Linked DNA regions of Homo sapiens: all the other regions are linked to region 4. Evidence: promoter capture Hi-C in 16 types of primary human blood cells and fetal thymus (Javierre and others, 2016). All regions are on one chromosome and are shown on one strand. The core of a region is centred on a gene start or on the middle of the fragment in contact, and the rest is flanking DNA. Distances in the headings are between cores, read along the strand shown.

Region 1 (2,700 bases), core at 187-2,686, 2.1 Mb after region 4:
AACAAAATTTTTTATGTTCTTTCCAATTCAGAGAGAGAGAGAGAGAGAGAGAGAGAGAGAGAGAAAGGAGCCAAATTGCCAGAGGATAGAAACACTTTGTTTCTACTTGAACTCTCATAAAAGGCTTCTGAATGAGGTTTTTGACATTGGAACGGAGGGTATTTTTATGATGGATATTTTAACCTTTTCCTCAAAAGCTGAGATTTTGCAATCACAACCCACTGTTTCCCAATGATGATGACTTAAGGAGAAGTAGCATTTCTCAGCCCCACAACCTGATGTTTCCACTGAAGCCAAAGGGGTTAAGGATTTGTTACTTGATCTAATGGCAACGACTTTCCAATAGACATGCACAGAATCATTGATCAATGTGCCCTCTCCTTGTTTGCACTGGAACACTGTTCAATTTACACCAATTAAAGAATGCTTGGTTTGGGTATTGAAGAATAATTAAGAGAGGCAAATCCCCAAGGGCTTCTAAAAATGACATCTGACTAGAATGGTGATTATGGCATGAAGGCGGCATTAGTTTTAAATAGTTTGACTGATATACAAAATCATTACAACGTCTCTCCAGGAAGAGTGACATTAGGTCAATGTATGTACTTGCCTGGTCACCCTAAACAAATTTGACAAGTCTAATTTTAAGTAATTGCTCAGAGTTTAGTGGCAGCCTCTGTCCCCACAAGGGCAGCTGTCCAGACCACATCATGTAATTGAGACGTGTCTTTAAACTATATGTGTCACTCCAACATGCGAATGTGCTCTCACAAAAATGTTAAGGGTTAGTGACACTCCAGTGAATTATTTTCCAGTCGAGTTTCAACTTTACTGTAGCTTTTTGAACTTTACTATAGCTATATGAAAACTTTACTGTAGCTATTTGTTAACTTATCAACAAATTCTACCTCATCCCCCTATAGGAAAGATTGGGTTTTCTAGCTAGATCGAGCTCTAGAGTTCATCCAGGAATCATTTCAAGGTGTGATCCCTGGACCAGCAGCCTCGGCAGTACTTGGGCAGTGGGTAGAAAGGCAAATTCCCTGGCCCCACCCCAGGCCTGCTGAATCAGCAGTTCTGCAGATGAGGTCCCACAGTGATGCTTTAAAAAGTGCTCCCAGTAACTCTGAAGCCCACAGATTCACTATCTGGGTGATTAAATGGATGCCCAAAAGTTTAGGTAATTTGCCTGAACCATGCAGCTCACTTGAGAGTGGAGGCTGGGGCTGATCATGTCGTGTTCAAAATGTTTAATTCCTGAACCTTGGTCCAACTTTTATCTGAAATGCTCATCTTAGATTTGTATTGCAATAAAACTCCAGCCAACTAAGTACGACTGATTTTTATTATTCAGTTAAAGTCTTGAAAATATTTTGCTCGTCTGTTTCTTATTTAACTCCCTGGGTATCCCTGAGAAGGTGTGCAGCATCCGGACTGGTGGCTGGCTGGTTGTCTTCTTTCTCCTGGTCATCAGAGGCTGAGCCTGCGTGCAGGTGTAGTCATTGGATTAGTTGTAAGAGGAAGTATCTCCAGAGCCAGCGATTTGATGACCAGTGTGAGAGCCTCAAGAGGCCCCCTCTTCAGTCCTTGGAGATCTCTATGCATATGTAGAGAGTGGTCCTCCCTTGCTCCAAGGGGCTCCTGCACGACACTGATGAGCAGGGCCCCTGCTGCCCCTTACTGGACATAGAGTGAGAGTGACAGACTTTGGTATATGAAGCCACTGATATTTGGGGAATGTTTGTTACCACTTTACAACCTGGCACATCACAGGATCCTTTGGGACCTCTAGACCATCCCTTTGCACCATTAAAAGTAGGCAATGGGTAGGACAGAAGGTAGGTGGGAAAAAAAACACTTCCCTATGTAGAATACAACTGAAGAGAATGGTATTTCCAAGAGGACAGAAGAAAGTGAACTAAATTTGAGTTACTAACCAAAAGACTTCTAATTTAATTTTCTTTTTTTCATCATCACTGTATCTTTTGCCACCTACCCCAGCCTGACATTCCTTGAGCCACATAGAGCCCGTATTTACCTAACTACAAGTGAGTGAATCAAATCAAAACTGAAAAATAAGAGTGGTCTCATTTGCAGGCTGCACAAGTTCGCCGTTTCCAGTGCCCTGCCAAGCAGCTCAGCCATACAACTAAAGTGTATGAAAAAGGCTTCTTTCCTACTTGCCCAGGCTCCCAACAGATGGAGAAAGTCTATCTTAGATGCCTGTCCCCCTCCCTCTTCCTACTCTCCTTTTCTTCCTGAGCACCCTCACCACCCAGGTGAGCCTGTGGAACCAGCACACCCCCTCTCACCCCCTTTCCTCTCCATCTCTCTCCCTCCGTCCCTCTCTCGGCAGTGATGCTGAGTCGTTCAGCCATTTCATCCCTGGGCTCTCTGTGCAGGGCGAGGGGTAAAATGTGCCTCTGAATGGGGAGGAGTAGACAGAGTGGATTAATGGCAGCAACAGAAGAGTGATACAGCCGAGCAGAACAAAACGAGGGCGACCCGGACAAAACAAAGCGCCACAATAGATCATTTCTGAAAAGTCATCCGGGCAGCTTTGAAACCCAGGGTTGTGTGTTCCAGCGCAGTGTCACATCCACCGGCTTTCAAGAGACATGAATGGAAACGGAACAGTAACTCTTTTTCATGCCTCTTTTCAGGGGTCTTGTCAGCAGAGAAGGATTTACCATTCAATTC
Region 2 (2,743 bases), core at 219-2,718, 2.0 Mb after region 4:
TCTTTGAAAATGTCTCATAGATATTCTTTGAGAAAACTTTCCAACCATAATAAGTAAAATTATTATTTATTTCTTTTATTTCTTCCATTATTGGAAGGATTGGAAACATCATGAGAAGTCCACTAAATATGCCTTTCATTTGCTCATTCATTCAACATTGACTGACATGTAGTATATGCTAACACTCCACTCTATGCTAGATTTACCGTCTCTGCTTTCAAAGAGTTCATAGTCTACGGCGAAAGTCAAACAAGAAAAACCTCTGTTGTATCTTTGTCATGGCACTTCCTGGCATCATTTCCCATGCACGTCTATCATCTTTCTCCTCACCTGGAATGTCAGCCTCAGGAGGGCAGGAACTGTGTCTGTGTGAGCAGGACCTACCAAAGAAGAGGCACTCAGTAAATATCTGTGGCTGTTGGAAAAAAAAAAAAGTGATATTTTAGATATGTAAATAGGATAAAATGGAAGCTCAAAAGGCAGATACCTTTCTCAGCATAGACTGTGGTGGAAGGCGGGTTGATGGGAAAGGTATCGAGGAGTTGATGAGGCTGGGAGCAGGGAGCCCCATGAGGGGATGTGCAGGAGGTTTCCCAAAGAACAAAGTCTGGAAGCACACAGCAGGTGTGAAGAATCATGGAGGAGTGGGCCATCTGGATGAGATTGGGAATGCTGAGGAAGTTTCACTGGAGCATAGGATGCTGTGGGGAATGGCAGGATCTGGGGCTAGATGGGCAGTGAGGCCTGAAGCAGCAGTCATCTTATACCCAGGTGGAGAAGCTGTTCTCTGTAATCGGTGTTGATTACCAATTGACTGAAACATTTAAATGCCAAATTATTAACTAGTGCGAGCATTTAAGAAAAAAGAGTCTGGGCACAGTGACTCATGTCTGTAATCCCAACACTTTCGGAGGCCAAGGCGGGAGGATCACTCGAGCCCAGGAGTTCGAGACCAGCCTGAACAACATAGTGAGACCATTCCCACCTCTACAAAAAAAAAAAAAAAAAAAAAAAAAAAGCAAGAAAATTAACCAGTCATGGTGGCACAGGGCACACACCTGTAGTCCCAGCTATTCAGGAGGCTGAGGCCGGAGGATCAATTGAGCCCAGAAAGTGGACACTGCAGTGAGTTGTGATTATGCCATTGCATTCCAGCCTGAGTGACAGAGCAAGACTCTGTCTCAAAAAAAAAAAAAAAAAAAAACTGTCCACCTTTGACAGAAATCTGAATCCCTCTTTTATAATAAACCTCTAATGCTCTCCACTGACATAGGACTTAGTTTGAGGGTACAGCCAAGACATCATCCACTTTCCCAAAGAAAGCACTTGGTCACTAATCATGGTCACTAATCATACACATCAGCTGTAGCTGTTTTTGTTCCATTATCTAAATATTTAAAGAGAAACCAGCATTTTGGTCTCAATTATCTGAATAATTCCACAACTCACCATTTGTTTTTAGTAGAGATTCAAGGTTAAAATAATAATAATAGGTATCTTTAAGACTCAACATTATTTATATGAAAGTCTATTTTTAAACAACATCCAAATTATTTGCCTCTGTTTTTCACCCATGTAAGAAAATATTTGATACATCAAGAATGAATAAAAGACCATCACATGGGCTGTTCTTTTTTTTTTTTTTTTTTTTGGATTGCTCATTGTTGTTGTTTCATGGATTTTTCTGTTTTATTAGGAAAAAACAATTAAATGGAGCACATATGCAGATCCAATCACTGCCTCCCTGCTGCAGGTGGAGGTCGTGAGTAAGTGGTGGCAGGCTACTTCTGATTTCATTATGAATTCCTCTCATGTGGACACAGGCTTCAGCCGGGGATGACAAGGATTTTTGAACTTCAAAAAAAAAAAAAAAGAGGAATCATAATAAATATTTTACTGTCTAGTCAACCCAATTTATGAAGCCTGATTATCTAGCTCAGCCTCCGGAGATTGCTACCGGAAATCTCCCCAGATGTTCCCCCTTCTAACCCAACTCTCCACTGTCTGGCAGGAAGGCAGCCGGGCATCTGCATTCCGGAAGCCCAGCTGCTTGGGAAGAGAGAGGGAGCGGCCTGCACGTCACTCAACAGCCCTGCCTGCTAACCAGTTAACCAGTTCTCAGTTGGGTTCACGGACCCATGAGCGACCCAGCTTTCTTCCCCTCAGGTTGATATTGTGCTCCAAGCTGGGGATGCCCGGGGACTATGTGGAGGGAGAGTGCCTGAGGCAGCAGGGAGCTGATCACCCTCACTTCCCAAGTCAACGGGTATCCTGAAATAGTGCTGTTTGAACAACATTGGGCAAGAACATGAAGAGTGCTTCTGGGGTTCTTTGTATAGGCCCAGACACGCTCATTTCTGTTTCTAAATTACACAGCCCCAAGATTTTCAGGAACGATGGGATTCTGTATACTTGTGTTATTTGTTGTTGGTGTAACTTTGAAAATTTAGCTTATAGTATAAATGTCATTATATTATATAAAATATATAGCATAATTATTTTTATATGGGCACTTTTTCTTCCTTTTTTGGAACACACCTGTATATTTTAGTTTGCCCTTTCACCATCTAGTCCTTGGCTGTGATCCCCGTGGCTATACTACAGTATACACTAGGGCCATGAGGAACTTGGACCTAATGTGAAATTCAACAGAACCTATCACCCTTAGGAGGAATCATCTAATCACAAATAGCCCTTGGGAGTCAGACCAACCAAACTAGGATTCTTGAAAGAGTTGTTCCAG
Region 3 (2,700 bases), core at 140-2,639, 2.2 Mb after region 4:
AGTGAGTGCCACAGATTTTCCTGCCTGGCTTTGATTCAGTTGGCTTCATGTTTTCCTGGAGTTCAGGAGCCTCTTAACTTGTTTCTGGATTTTTCACAAAGGCAGCTGGTGTGTGTGTTGTTGTGTCAGTGTCTCTGTAGAGGAAGGAGGGCCTGGGACTTCACATTCTGCCATATTATTCATGCCACTCTTTTGACCTGAATTATTTGAAAGCAAATCCCAGACATTGTATAATTTCATCCATAAACATTTCAGAATATATCCCTAAAAGAAAATTATTATTGGTATATGCAACAGAATTAACAAAAAGTCCTTAATATAACTATCAAATTTCCAACTACCATGAAAATTTTCCACTTTTTCCACGATTGTTTATTAAAACTTAGTTTATTCAAATCACACTCTAAACAAGGTCTTAATTGCACCTAGATGATATGTCCTTTAAGACTCTTGATCTTTTGGTTCCTCCTGCCTCTCTTTTTTTCTTATAATGTATCTACTGAAGAAATCAAATAGATTATTATGTAAAATTTCTCACATTCTGGATTTTTATTGCACTCCTATGATGTCTTTTAATGTGTTCCTCTGTCCCCTGTATTTTCTATAAACTGTTAGATTTAGAGGCTTGATGAGATTCAGGTTTATGTACTACCTATTATGTCACATCAGGAGATTGAACTATCTGACTACCCCTCTTTTTTGTGATGTTAAGTTTGATTAATAGGTCTAGGCATTGTCAGACAGATCTGTTCATTATAATGTTTCCCATCGGCTACTCATCTGATAGTTTAGCAGACATTAATAATCACTGGCTCCATTGATTGTTTTATTTGGGATTTTTAAATGGCAACATGCTACTCTACCATTCCTTGCAGAAGCACATTTCATAAGAACAAGGTAATATTCTATAAGCGTCCATCATCTCATATAAAATGGGGATGATAACACCTGCCTTACCTTACCTTATACCTTGGATGGATGCATAAAGCATTTGGTAAGCTGAAGTCACTATATAAATGTATGGTAGACACCATAGTTGATCCCCCAAGATGCATGCCGCTTCAGAGGGTGCACAGAAATCAATCATGCTAGTAACTGATCTGAGAATGGGCTTGTGACCCTACCCTCATGGCTGAGTCATGAGGGGATGCTCCTGAGAAGCTCCTGGGAAAAGGTCTTTTCTTGCTAAACAAAGCCATAGAAAGAGACAAATAACTTTTGTTTTCTCTGAATAATGCCATATCTGGAAATGTTACTACCAACCTTGCTACTACACCAAGGAGATACTCAACGACACTAGTAATCTGATGAATCAACTAACTCTAAAGCCCCTCATTTTAAGGAATCTCCTGTTATGAGAGAGAAAATATTCATTGCTGCTAGCTAGTTTGAGTTGGGGTTTCTGTTGCAATGGAAAACATTCTAATCAGTACAAAAAATCAAGAATGATAATGGTGGTAATGGTGATGAATATAGCATTATTTTAAAAACTACCAGGATAGATACTGATATTAGAGGTGTTCAGTAAAATTTGAACTGGTAAACATTTACTGTCAGTCAATCCTTCTTGTGTGTGTACTCTGTATAAAGCATTGCACAAAATGATGAAATTTTGCACAGAGAGCTCTCTAAGAACGAGCTATATATCACTTCTAATTTAAAGCTATCAGTTCTGATTTCTGTGCTGGGAAAAGGTACCAGTTCATAATCTTATGGTCTTTCCTGAGTTTGGTTTTCTCTTTTATGTGGGATAATCTAGAAATTTCTTTGTAGGGTAATAACATTTATGAGTGGAGGAAGCACTGAATTCACTCGCAACTCAGGAAAGTTTACATGACTTCCCAAAATTGTAAGTCCCCATACATGGATTGTAAGACACTGTCAAAAGCATTTTTAAAATGTACAGTGTCTTTCTTATTTGAGGAATATTTTTTGACACACAAAATAATGTGATGCATCCTAAAAACTACATTTAAATCCCAGCAATATCCTGTACGCATGCAATCTTACGTATTTGACGAAACAGCTCCTCATCTTAGATTTGAATAGAAAATTGCATATTTTGAAAAATGTAAGAGAATGAATCAGAAAGTCTTTAAGATAATTCTTAAACCTCTAAAATGCTACTGAGAGGTCTCACTGTTAAGAGCCAGGCTGGATATGGGGAGTGCTAGAAATTACTACCTAGCAGAAAATATTAAAATTCATCTCCTTGTCTGGGGAGGGGAATAGTAGAGACACAGCTCAAATCAAGAGAAAGAGATAAATCAGAAAAGGGCAGTAGATGTAAATGTAGAAAATGGAAAAGAAAGGTGGGAGCGGGAACCAGATCTCGGCTCCAGAGAATGTCAACCTGCAGGGTTGAGAAACAGGTGAAACATTAAAATAGACACTTGGAGTCTCTAGAAAAAAAATCAAACCAAAGACTATGCAAGGCACAGCACCCAAGATACATCAAGAGAGAAGAAAAGCCTTATGTGTGATGCAGGGAGACAGAGGCAAACAGGGCTAACAGGGTTACATAGACAGGGTCGGGGAAACCCAGCTAGGATGAGGAAGTGGCTCTATCATTGGTGTGGATTTTACTTTAAACCAATATGGTGATCCTGGGACACTTAAGGAAATGGCCTTACTTTCCAAAACCCTGGCACTGGGGTGACTTAGAGAAGGTAACGAGTGTAGGAATGGGTGAATCCTAGG
Region 4 (2,883 bases), core at 240-2,739:
TGGCATGGAGAGTGCATGAAACTGGGAGAAGTGGTGGTCTTGATCTGCATCTGGGCAGAAAACGATGACTCCCTGCCAGGGCCCAGTGCCATCAGATACTATCTTCAAGGCCTCAAAGGCAGCCTTCTCCCATTGACACTTATCGCAGCTTCCTTACCCTCAAGATACTGGATTAGCTCACACTCAGGGCTGAATCAGGCCTAGCCTTGGAAAGGGAGGAGTGCAGAGGTGGATCTAGGGTTCTTGCAGATAATGGCCCAGAAACTACCAACATCAGCTTACTTGTAAGACTGAATTCTTCTGTGGCAGAACTGTGGATTACAATAGTGAAGCTCCGCAGCACCTGCCACATGGCAGGTGTTCAGAAATGCCATGAATCAGCTTACTAAACTTTCCATTCTACGTGGGAAATTAGCACTCAGGGAGCAAACCAGGACACGCGCGCGCGCACACACACACACACACACACACGATGAAACCAAACCGCCATTGTGCAATGCACACCCTTTGTCCAAAGGTAGATGGGTACAATTCACTCTGATCTGCATTTTTAAACATTCAAGTCAACCGAGAGCTCTAGTGAAAATGCACCCAATTCTGTACAAGTGGGGTCATCAACAGCGGCTTCTCCAGCCTGGTCTGGTAAAAAAGCAAACCACAGGCACACACATCATGATGAAACCAAACCTACGCTGTGCAATGCGCAGTTTGTCGAAAGGCAGATGGGTAAAATTCACTCTGATCTGCATTTTTTAATATTTAAGTCAACCAAGAATCCTAGTGAAAATGTGCCTAAATCTGTCCAAGCGGGGTCAAGAGCGGCCTCCCCTGCCTGTTCTGGTAAAAAGGCTTGCGTGTCCCTACCTCACCAGCAGCCGCACAGCAGCTGGGCTTTTCCAAGCTTGCCCACACCCCTGTTCTCCGCCCTGCAAAAGCTGCACCTGCCACAGCATTTAACACCTGGTCACACCTGAGGTTGGTACCAGGGCTTCTCAAAAGGCAGGGAAGGGAAGACGTTCCGCGAACGGGGTGCAAGAGAAAGCGCGAGGGGCAATAAAGCAGTGTGGCCAGATGCAGACTGAAGTGGGTGATAGGGCAAGAGGAGAGCTTGATAGGTAGTGAGGCACTCACCAGGCGGACTGCGGGTTCCCACTCCCTGGGAGCTCCCCGGAAGCTCCAAGAACCGCCTGGGTCCCCAGGCCCGAACACAGTCAGCACTTGCTCCCAGCCCCCACGCTCGCACTCACCAAGAAGCCCACCAAGTAGAGACAGAGCAGGAAGCGGCGGGCTCCGACGGCACCGGAGTCGGCAGCCTCCGCCTCGGTTCCTGTCTTCTGCTCCTGTTTCCGCTCTGCGGTCTCCGAGACCAGCCTCGGGGCCGAGTTCATGTCCCAGTGACCCCCAAGCTCCATACCCGCGCCGGCCGGGGGTCGGACGCAGCAGCAGCCGCGGACCTACCCCGGGAGCCCAGCCCCGCCCCGAGCGGAAGCAGGAGGCGCGCGCCTGCGCAGAGAGAGGGGGCGGGTGCTACCTGGCAGCTCCGCGGGTGCGTGGCCGGTGCTGGCTGGGAGTTCTGGTCTCAGGCAAGGTGGGGACTGGGCACATCATCAATACGGTAAGCACACACCAGTTTGTGATGATAATGATGATGCTCTTTGTTTCCTCTGGGTACAGACCCTGCTGCCCCTATCGTTGGAGGACAGGAGGGAATTGTATTGAGCTTCACTTCCTCCTATGGAGTTGTGCTAGGAGGTGACCAACTCCAGCTTGAAGATCCACAGACCCTGGCCACCAGTTGGTTGTGACAGACCTAGGATACGTTAACGTGGCTCTCCAAGCTTTCGTTTGCCTATTTAAAAAGCAGTAGGAAATAATGTAGTCCAACTTCTAGAGGTGTGAGAATTCTACACATGCTTCTTAAGATCCTTTCTGGTGCAGTGCAATGTGAACAAACCATAGATGGTCTATGCCTGAGTTGAGATTACAGTCTCATGGAGTAAAAATAATAAGCACGCAGTAAATAAACATAAATAAAAATACTAAACATGCAATGAAAAAGCATAAAATAAGTAAAATAATATGGTGATAATATAAAGAAGCACGGTCTTGATGTGGAAAGTAATGAGGTGGGGAGTGAGCTACTTTAGAAAAGCAGTTTGGAGGAGGTGACATGTAAGCTGAGAAGAGTGGAAAGAAGATATGTGTGGCTGAAACTTCCTCATCAAACTGAGAGGTCAGCAGGAGTGCAGACCATTTAGGACCCAGAAGGCCATAACAGAGATTTGGGGTTTATTCTGAGTGCAGTGAAAGGAATTAAGTGAGTGCATGACACCAAAAGATGCCTTTAAATTACTTAGCAAAGCCCATGACACATGGTAAGTAATAAATGTTAACAATAGTGACTAGCCCCTCTTTTCTTTAGAACTTGTTATTTATTCCTCTTTCACTGTGGGATCAAGAAGACTCTGACATTTTACTGAGATTTTGCTCAAAATCTCAATTTACTTGTGTAGGTTGCTAATTCTGAGATCTGTTAAATTCAGTGTTGCAAAGTTTCTCATGGGAGGTGGCACTGAATAGGGAGAAGTGGAATACTGATACTTAGAATTAAGACATATAATTGAATCCAGGTGAAACTGTCAATCGTGAACCCCCAAGTTATTCTGAGACTCCTTTGCAGGAGAACTAGTTTGCTCTCCTATAGCTGAGGAAACTAGTCTTTTTGTGCTTGAAATTTTGTGAGTAACTCATCTGGGAAAGGCGCCTTGAAAGGGCTGCTCATGTTAACCCATTAAAACCACTCACTGTGGCTACTAAATACATAGCTAGGGTGAAATTTTAGCATGCTCTGGTGACAGGTACACATTATAACCTAGGAGGACA

What was found. Contacts are between HindIII fragments. The CHiCAGO score rates a contact against its expected background, and 5 or more counts as called.
Region 1: a contact is called between a fragment that was not itself captured here and the fragment with the promoter of SLC67A2 in region 4, in 2 of 17 cell types (M2 macrophages and M0 macrophages). The highest score is 6.1, in M2 macrophages.
Region 2: a fragment that was not itself captured here is called in contact with the fragment with the promoter of SLC67A2 in region 4 in 2 of 17 cell types (M2 macrophages and M0 macrophages); the score reaches 8.0 in M2 macrophages.
Region 3: a contact is called between a fragment that was not itself captured here and the fragment with the promoter of SLC67A2 in region 4, in 1 of 17 cell types (total B cells). The highest score is 7.2, in total B cells.

Annotation. Positions count from the first base shown.
Region 1 is chr2:104,786,789-104,789,488 of GRCh38, forward strand. No RefSeq gene overlaps it. Among named protein-coding and RNA genes, the nearest start is that of LINC01114, 30 kb to the left of the region's middle. The HindIII fragment of the contact is 4,017 bases long and covers 1-2,700 here.
Region 2 is chr2:104,764,883-104,767,625 of GRCh38, forward strand. No RefSeq gene overlaps it. Among named protein-coding and RNA genes, the nearest start is that of LINC01114, 8.5 kb to the left of the region's middle. The HindIII fragment of the contact is 3,791 bases long and covers 1-2,743 here.
Region 3 is chr2:104,966,358-104,969,057 of GRCh38, forward strand. The region is part of intron 1 of MRPS9-AS2 (MRPS9 antisense RNA 2); the gene reads right to left. Among named protein-coding and RNA genes, the nearest start is that of DALIR, 60 kb to the left of the region's middle. The HindIII fragment of the contact is 6,733 bases long and covers 1-2,700 here.
Region 4 is chr2:102,735,399-102,738,281 of GRCh38, forward strand. It overlaps SLC67A2 (solute carrier family 67 member 2), which reads right to left and starts at 1,490. Exons shown (of 6, transcript NM_032718.5): 1 at 1,248-1,490. The coding sequence starts at 1,412. It also overlaps a transcript of TMEM182 not described here. RefSeq lists a silencer at 1,397-1,606. The HindIII fragment of the contact is 937 bases long and covers 900-1,836 here.